Linked DNA regions of Homo sapiens: region 1 is linked to region 2. The links are contacts of gene promoters, found by promoter capture Hi-C in blood cells and fetal thymus (Javierre and others, 2016). All regions are on one chromosome and are shown on one strand. Each heading gives the region's core, a stretch centred on a gene start or on the middle of the fragment in contact. The rest is flanking DNA. Distances are from core to core; before and after follow the strand shown.

Region 1 (4,989 bases), core at 1,493-3,992, 490 kb before region 2:
GTTCCCAAACTCTATGCTTCTAGTTCAGTTTGGAGAAATGAGACTGTTCCCTTTAGAGGACAGAGAGCAATGCCCCCTCTCTCTTGCAGCTCATGGTAAGATCTAAAAGTTAGTGATGTCTCCACTCTGCAATTTGTCTGAACCAGAAGAGTGGTCAAAATAGCAAAGACCAGATTTCATGATGGGGTTGAAGCTTTCCTTCTACTTAAGCCAAACATAATATCTCACTTTCCCATGTCAAATTTAGAGCTTTTCTTCACATTCTAAGAGAGAAGGAGAGATATTTGCTAGGGGAAAAAGCCAAAATGTTCATGAATAATCTACTTCATTCCAATCAATTAGGAAGAAAAACGCAGTCCGCAAAGCACATTCTGAATTGGTATAGTTGAGAGACCAAAATAGACTGGCACACAGTAGAATTAGATTTACTATTTCAAGCCCTGCTATATATTTATCCTTATTTGGTTGTCTTTTGCAGAGTTGCATGACTATGGAAATGAGAGTGACCTTGGGTCATGTAGCTGATCATCTTGTATCCAAGAAGTATTTCTCTCAAGTTCTCCTAATTACAGATTCAGCAGCGGGTCTATTGTGACTCCTGATTTTAGAGTGCATTCTACCTGACACGCAGTTTCTCTTACAGTAACCAGGTACCCATTGTGCTGTGATTGTGGTAGTAGCATGGACTGGAGAAATTTGATGATGTGTTGAATGCTAGTCATTTCCTCAGAAAAATGGCCAGGCGTGGTTCCATTTGCAGGGGTGGCTGTGTTTCATCTCACATCATCCACTTACCCTGGCCAAAGCGAGTTGAACCAGAGTCACCACCAGACCCAAAGACAGCCATGTATAGGCCAGCAGCTCTGCCTAGTGGGAACCACATTTATCAATGGTCCACCCAATCTGCAACACATGATGTCCTGATGACTTCCTCTCTCCTGGCACTCTGTCTGCTCTTCCCTCTCCTAACGCCCTCGCAGCCATCCTTCAAGGTACTATCCAGGCTTGCTTTCTCTGGCTCCCACACTGTCTTTCACGGGGATATCATGAAAGCCCTTATGGTGTCTTTGCTAGAATTGGGAAAACACACCCCTCTCATGTAAAATAGTCTTATTTAATGCATTAACCTCATTGCACACCTGCACACGCAGCAGCCTGTGAAGTACATGCCACTCTCATAACCACATGTGCCACTCACATCGTCTAGAAGCAAAAGCCCATAGGGTACCGTGAGCTGAGTGGCTGGTGGTACTTCCTAATATTACTAACATAACGATTCTCTCTGAAACCCCAGCCTCGCCCCAGCCCACTGTGTGTTCCACTCCAGGAGTCAGATCTGATTCTAGGTCCTGGTTTTTTCCTGTGTGCGCTGCTCTGTTGTAGTGGCTGCACCCATAGCTGACCACATCACAGATGGGTCACATGGAGCTCTGGACAATACTCTTCCCCAGCTGATCTTTGACAAGGTCCTTCCTTTCATCCCTTTATCAATAAGATTGGTTACGTTTGAAGCTGATTGACCACCTATGCCTAAAGAAGAGTGATTTATGTATCACCTGGAAGGAGACACCCGAGGTCACGCCACAGGTCTCTCCTCAGCCCTGGCCATTTCAACGTATTTATATGCAACTTGGACCTAGAGCTAGAAGGCAGGCTATTAAATTTTATGTAAGGCACAAAACAAGAAGGTTTGGTTATTTAATGAATGAGATGAATGACAGAAATGTCTCAAAATTACTTAGCTAGACAAGAACAAAAGTCAATCACACATAAAATGAACTTTAACAGGAATAAATCAAATTTTCAGAAAATACACAAGTGCAGGATGGGAGAGATTTGGCCTGAAGCACTTCCTGAGACAAAGAAATGGACAATTTAGTTGGCGATAATGCTGAAACAGTGGAGGTCATTGTGCGTCTGCCTAGGAGAAGTCTCTCCCACTCATTCCCATCTGTTCTGGGGGCCACTGTGGAGGAAGCGTCCTCCAAGAGCAGGCAGGCGAAGGGGAGTGACAAGGAGGGTGAGAAGTCTTAGCCAGCTTATCTAAGAAGAAATCATTGAGGGAGATATATTTAGGTTGGAGAGAGAAGAATTGGGAAGCTGATGCCTCTCTCAGGAGGCACAGAGAGAAGTTATATTGGGTAGATCATGTCTCTACACATGAGAACTTTTAAAAATTTGAAATGTCCCCAAAATGGAATTAGGTACTTTCTGAGCAAAAAATGAACATCTTTGTATGTCAACAAATATACCTCTACAACAGAGGTTCATAAATACATTTTTTTGTATTAATATGTACAAAGCGATGTAGAAGACATTCCTCCACTGAGGGACAGGTTAGAACTTGCAAGGTGGCTTATGCCACACAACATGGGCCAGCTCAGCTCCGCTGTCTCTGAAACTTTCTTTTGTCAGCAGAGCAAGAGTAGATTTATCTCTCAGGGGAAAAATTACGTTAATTAGGCTCATGAGTGAATGCCAGCTTAATATAGTATAATGAAAAATATGGCAAAAGAACCATAATGGGAAGCCAGATAACAATCAAAGTTGCAGGGGACACCCCCCTCTTGGAGGTTCTGGCAGATTAATTGGACATATAATAAGTAAGGAAAAACGTTTAGAATGATTGAGGATTCAGTGAAGTTTCCAGCTGTAAAAGAAATCTTAATAAAAGTTTCAACTTTTCTATACATTAGCTATACCCCATTAAAATACAAAACAGAGGGGAAGAAATCCACTATGTGATGATCACAACACTTTACTGACATAAACAAGAAGACTTGCCTCCATCATGCTTCTGCCCTAGAAGTCTTTTCTTTTTTCTTTTTTCCTTTTTTTTTTTTTTTTTTTTTTGAGACGGAGTCTCGTTCTGTCGCCCAGGCTGGAGTGCAGTGGTGTGATCTCGGCTCACTGCAACCTCTGCCTCCCAGGTTCAAGCGATTCTCCTGCCTCAGCCTCCTGAGTAGCTGGGATTACAGGCGAACGCCACCATGCCTGGCTAATTTTTTTGTATTTTTAGTAGAGACGGGGTTTCACCGTGTTGGTCAGGCTGGTCTGAAACTCCTGACCTCGTGATCGGACGCCTCGGCCTCCCAAAGTGTTGGGATTACAGGCATGAGCCACCACGCCCGGCCTAGAAGTCTTAATCACACAGGTTGTTAATTCTTCTCCTTTATGTTATAAATGTAATGCAATTCCTGTTAAAATCCAAATAAGATCTTCTTTTGTTGTTGTTGTTTGTTTTGTTTTGTTTTGTTTGAGATGAAGTTTCACTCTTGTCACCCAGGCTAAAGTGCAATGGCGCCATCTAGGCTCACTACGCCCTCCGCCTCCCGGATTCAAGCGATTCTGCCTCAGCCTCCCAAGTAGCTGGGACTACAGGCGCGGGCCACCATGCCTGGCTGATTTTTATATCTTTTAGTAGAGACAGGGTTTCACCATGTTGTCCAGGCTGGTCTTGAACTCCCGACCTCAGGTGATCCACCTGCCTGGGCTTCCCAAAGTGGTGAGATTACAGGCATGAGCCACCATGCCCTGCCTCAAATAAGATTACTTTTAAACCTTGTTAGAATGATTCAAAATTCATCTGAATAATAAACATTCAAGAAAGGTCAACATTTTGTTGAGAAAGCACTATGATGAGAGGGACTTGCCTCACAATGTTAAAATGCATGGTACTTTGCATTAATTAAAGTACTAGCTATAGCACAGAATAGGAATCTAGATCTGCAGAACAGAATAGTACCGGCCAAAACGCACTTCAGTGCATCTCATAGCTTAGTGAAGAAGTGGAGTATTTCAAATCAGAGGAGAAAGTTCAAAAAGGATTTGGGGACAAAATGAAACAATAAAAATAATGGAAAAAATATAGATGAATATCTACCGAAATAAGTTGGTAAATAAGTTGGGAAGAACTTTTAAAGCATGAAACCGAAGAAATAAATGTAGGTCAGTTTGACTACATAAAGTCTTAACACTGCTCTACAGCAGACAGATTAAGTTTGCTCACTTAATCCTATGCCTCCTTCGCCCTTGCCAGCCTCTTCCTAACTGTTGGGAGTGGCCATGAAATCGGTTCTGGCCAATAAGACATAAGCAAAGGTCGGCTGGTCTTGTCTCTTCCTCCACTCTTCTTCCTTCTGCCTGGAACACAGACCTGGTGGCTAGTTCTGCAGCGGCCATTTAATGATGATAAGGTAACAAATGGGAGGGGCTACGAGAGGACAGGGACGTGAGCTGTCACATTGTCAACTGTCTGAATCAGGTCCAACAGCTGCCTCTCTATGAGATGCTTGTTACATGAGATAATAAGTCCCCCTTAAGAGAGTGGAGCTGAGTTTTCTATTTCCTGAAGTTAAATTCATTCCTAACTGATTCTGAGCTTAAGGCAAAACACCATATTGCAGCAAAAGGCAAATAACAAAAATATTTGTACGATGGATCACAAAAGTTCATATCCTTATTCGTATAAGGACCTCTGTAAATAAGCAAGAAAGCTCTAGATATCCCATTGTTTAAAAAGGGGGCAAAGATTATGAATAGGAAGATTTTAAAAACAAGAAATTCGAGTGTCTAAGAAATTCATGAAAAAATTTCAACCTCATGACAAATTAAAACAATAGCCTAATGATTGATTCATCACCTATAAAACTGGCAAACACTGGAAAAATTACAGGATTATTTTCTGGAAAGCAATCTGGCAAAATGTATCAGAAGTTTTGGAATGTCCATGCCCTTTGAGAATCTGTGCAGGGAAATGGTTAAGGAGTTGCAAAGATTTGCTACAAGGATGTCTCCAACAATGCTGTTAATAATTGCAAAAGGATGGAAATGAAAGAAATATGCATGAGAGCTTTGTTAAATAAATTATAGGATTGCCCCCCATCAAAAATAATATGTAATTATGAACCTGCTGTCACAGAGGTATATTTGTTGATATACAAAGATGTTCATTATTCATTATTGAGTGAACAGCAAGTTGAACCCCAC
Region 2 (4,441 bases), core at 264-2,763:
ACAGTCCTGTTAACAAACACATAGGTTGCTTTCTGGTTGGAGTTATTACAGAACAATCTTTGATGAACATCTTTGAACACTTGTACAAGTGTTTGACAGGATAAATTCCCAGGAGGGCTGCTGGGTCCAAGGCTACGGTCATTTTCGATTTGAATAAGTATTACCAAATGGGCAAGTTATTTAAGTGATCCCTGAGTCGCTCTTCTTTGTAAACAGTGGACAATAATGAGTTTCTCAAATGTTTCTTATAAGGATTAAATGAGATGGGGATGTGGAAGCCTAGTATACAGCAAGCAGGCCGTCAATGAATGTTGGCCTCCCAATATTTTTTTTTACGGAGAAAGACAACTATTTATGCATATTATGATGACTATAGCTTAACCATGAGCTCAACAAACACAAAAATTCACAGAAAATTCTGCAATACCGTATCTATTTTAAACCCCATTATTGAATATAACTAGTGAAATCTCAGGTCAAATAGAATGTATTTAAGAAGACACAAACTTGACATTAAACACCAGAGATTTACATTTGATAGTTGTCTCTTCTTACAAATATATCCCTCATAATAATAAAAAAGCACTCCACTAGTATGCCAATTAAGACACATCTTCCAGTCGTGTTTTGTCCTTGAGTGAAAAATCTTGCTGCTCAATTCAAGTCATTCGTTTATTCATAACACCCATATATATATCTCCAACTCTGGAAAGAAACACTGACAGAAAGATGGAAAATTTTAGAGACCTCGTTTCCACTTCAGAGAGCCTGTTGTCCCCCAAACCTCTCGGGCCCTCCGGTATTTTTAAGCTTATCAAGATTCCAGAATGAGGTTAACGGGGCGTCACAGAACGAAACCCCCCACCGTCCCGTCCCAGGGGCTTCAAGCCAGGACCCCGGCCTGAGGGAGCCTCCGGGCAGGAGGAAGAGGCCCAGGAAGCCATCGCTCCGCTCCTTCCCAGCTGTTTATGTGGTACTCAGGGTACTCGGCCAAGGGCACGGCGACCCCGCAACACCCCAGGCGTGGGGCAAAGACAGCGGGGTTGCGGGGCTCCTGTCTGCCCGGGGCGTCGAGAGTTCCTGCCGCCCCCTCCCGCCTCATGCACGGAAAGCGCCGAGCCACGGCGTGCGGCGCCGGCCGAGCGTGAACCGGAGTCGGGGTTCGGCTACCCCGAGCGGCTCTGTGGGCCGCGGATCGCTTCCCCTGGGGCGGCCACGCAGGGTTGCGGGCCATGGCCTGGGGCGCCCGTCCGGACCCCGCCGCTGCGCGGGACGCCGCTCCCAGCCTCGACCAAGGGCGCCCGGGGGCGGCGGCGGCGGCGGCGGCGGTGACTGCCCGGGGCGGCGGCGCGGCGCGGGGGCGGCCAGGAGGCGAGGAGGCCGGGCCGCGGCCGAGGGCCCAGGGCGCGCTTCCGGCGGGCGTCGCGCGCGCCGCGGTAAATGGGAGGCTCGGCCGACAGGGGCGGGGGCCGCGCAGCCGGGGACTTTCAGGAACTGCAGGAGCGTGCGGCGCGGGAGTAGCCGAGCGCCCAGCGGCTGGGCCTGAGCGTCGAGACTCGGGGCCGAGGCGGAGGAGCGGCCGCCGCGCCGGGGCCCAGCCGGAGCCGCCGCCCTCGCCCTTGCCTTTGCCTGCGCGGCTCAGAATCACCATCCGCGGCGCGGGAGACGAGCCGGCCGTCCCGGGCCGGGGGACCCGCCCGCCATGGCCACCAAGGTGAGGGGCGCGCGGCGCAGGCCGGGCCGGTCGCTCAGGCCCGGGGCGGCGCGGAGAGGGTCGGGGCCGGGGCCGCGGGGAGGGTCGGGGCCAGGGGTGGTCGAGGGGCCACTCCGCTTCCTCGGTGGAGTCCCCGGGCGGGTCCGCGGCCCAGCCAGTCCCTTCTGGGCATGGGTGCGGCGGGCAGTGCAGACAGACCACCAGGATCGCACCGGGGGACGGCGTCGGGTCTGGGCGCGGGTTGGGACCCCGGGCGCAGCGAGGTTTGGGAAGTTTGCACCTGAGCGTGGGCTGCGGCGGGCTCGCCGGGAGGGGCCGCGGGACGGAAACTTCCCGCAGCCCGGGGAGGCCCCCGAGGCGACTGGCGCTCTGTGGCGTCCGGCGTCCCCGCCGCCCCCACGTCCCCTCCCGCTGCCGCCTGGGGGACCCTCGCCCCCGCGGGGCGGGTGGGGGTCGAGACCTCGGCGGAGAGGACGCGGCGCTTCCCGTCCCGGCCTGCGGGGGCTCGCGGCCGGGGAGGGACCGAGGCTGGGACGCCCCGCGCCCCTTTGCCTTCGCTGCTGTTATTTTTTTCTTTTGTTTTGCTACCTTTTCATTGTGAATGGCATTGCCGGCATGAATAAAATATCAAGAGGGAAATGACTGTGCTTTCGATTACGTGTTTGCCTGAAAAAAGGCCCAGGCCCGAATTACGTGGTGGAACTTTGACTCCTGCTTCGTCATTGGCTAGGAGCGGTGGTTTGCTTGTTTTACGTTATTGTTTATGAAATTAGCAGTCACTCTTGGCTACCTGAATTTTCAAAAGCCACCCTCCCCCGCTCCTTTTCCTTGGGCGTTTTCAGTAGTTACTTGATGTAGAATAGCCACTGGGGAAGTCACGGTCACGGAAGGGAGGACCTGGGGGAGGAGGCTCTATACCTGAGCCATTAACTGATCTGTGATACACTGTGAGGAGTGGGTTTACTTTTGCACTTAGTTTTTGTAATGTCACTTTGTTAGCATCAGCACCCCTTTGTCTATTTGTTTTTGAGATCTCTGAGCTACTTTTGGGTTGCTAGAAACGTTATTTTTTATTTTTCGATAGGTGTTTGCTTTTTTTGTGGAGTGTTAAGGTAGAAAATGGTAAGAAATGTGAAATCTCTTTGAAAGATCAGCATTGCTTGACTTCGGTCTGCTAGATGTTGTGCTGTGGTAAATTTTGTGCTCTGAATCCATCTAGGTGCAGCGTTTGTAGAGAAATGGGGATTCTCCTCCAGGGAACCTGTTGCTGCTGTTACTGAAATAATTACCTTCTTGTTAATATATTATTGCCTGTGCTGTGCTTTGGTTTTATTAATGCGATAGAACTTGCCACCTTTTTAACGTATTAATTTTGTGTTGACCTTTTTAAAAATAAAACTTAGGCCAAGGATTTCTAAGGAAATTTGATTTTGAGGTTTGTTGCCAGACATTCCAGAAATTACCAGTTACACATCCTAGTACATGCTCATCTTGCAACCTTAAAAGCGGTTTATAGGCCGGGCGCGGTGGCTCACTCCCACCTGTAATTCCAGCACTTTGGGAGGCCGCGGTGGGTGGTTCACCTGAGGTCGGGAGCTCGAGACAAGCCTGGCCAATATGGTGAAACCCTGTCTCTACTAAAAATACAGAAATTAGCTGGGCGTGGTGGCGCGCGCCTGTAGCCCCAGCTGCTCTGGAGGCTGAGGCAGGAGAATCGCTTGAACCCGGGAGGCGGAGGTTGCAGTGATCCGAGATCGCGCCACTGCACTCCAGCCTGGGCGACAGAGCGAGACTCCGTTTGAAAAAAGAAAAGACGAGACTCCGTTTGAAAAAAGAGAAGACGGTTTATGACATAGAGATCTGTCTAGTGGTGGTCAGTGTGTTTTTACACTCTGGTCTACTGAGGCATGTTATCTGTACTGTCCTTTAAGTGGAATGCAGTTTAGCAACTAGTGCAGGTATATATAGTGAAATTTTTATTTCATAGTTAATCCTGAACTTAATTTTTTTCCAAAAAATCGAAAAGTGGTTCTTGTATATTAATCTCGAATTGCATGTGTCTTTGATTAAACACGAGCCTTAAAGCATGCGTAAGGACTTCCTACTTCGTTATCTACACCACTCCAAAGGCAAATTCCAGTAGTTCTGTTAGTTTCTTTCGGCTGCCTAATCACTGTTCCACATGGTGCTCATTTCCATGTTTACATTGTGACAAACCATTTCCATTTTAAGAAAAAGAAGAGCAACGAAGCAGTTATTAAAAGAAGACCCTTCCTTTGTTTTCTGACATGCTGGTGATTCTTGTGTCAAACCAAAGTCTCATTTTTTAATTGTTCCCAGAGAGTCAAGTTGGTGCTTTCCTCCCTTCCCCCATATGCACACTCCTTCCCCACACCTGAGTAGTTGTGTTTTTTCTTTGTCTTCTTCAAGGGGTGGGGAGAATGTGCTTAGTAGTAATGACTAACTTTTAATAAAAATGTAGGCTCCAGTGGCACTCAGGCTGTTGCTATAAGTATTAACTGATGAAAAGTAAATTCAGTATCTGGATATTTTAAGGGATGTCGATTTCCCTTTGAATTTATCAGAGACTTGGCTATAGTATCTTCAGATACAATTTTCTTGTTTGTTCTTACGTATTAAGGATGTGGTTATCACTGAACTATTGGGATTTTTAAAAACTCCACTACTATATTTTACAATAAAAAAGGAAATTATCTTTTAGAAGAA

Evidence for each region. The method cuts DNA at HindIII sites, captures the fragments that hold promoters and counts their contacts. A CHiCAGO score of 5 or more calls a contact.
Region 1: a fragment that was not itself captured here is called in contact with the fragment with the promoter of SNX9 in region 2 in 1 of 17 cell types (naive B cells); the score reaches 5.1 in naive B cells.

Annotation. Positions count from the first base shown.
Region 1 is chr6:157,331,802-157,336,790 of GRCh38, forward strand. It overlaps LOC105378076 (a long non-coding RNA gene), which reads left to right. Exons shown (of 3, transcript XR_943165.2): 3 at 479-1,149. Among named protein-coding and RNA genes, the nearest start is that of TMEM242-DT, 11 kb to the left of the region's middle. The HindIII fragment of the contact is 5,103 bases long and covers 192-4,989 here.
Region 2 is chr6:157,821,733-157,826,173 of GRCh38, forward strand. It overlaps SNX9 (sorting nexin 9), which reads left to right and starts at 1,514. Exons shown (of 18, transcript NM_016224.5): 1 at 1,514-1,714. The coding sequence starts at 1,703. RefSeq lists a silencer at 1,323-1,642 and an enhancer at 2,293-2,342. The HindIII fragment of the contact is 6,514 bases long and covers 809-4,441 here.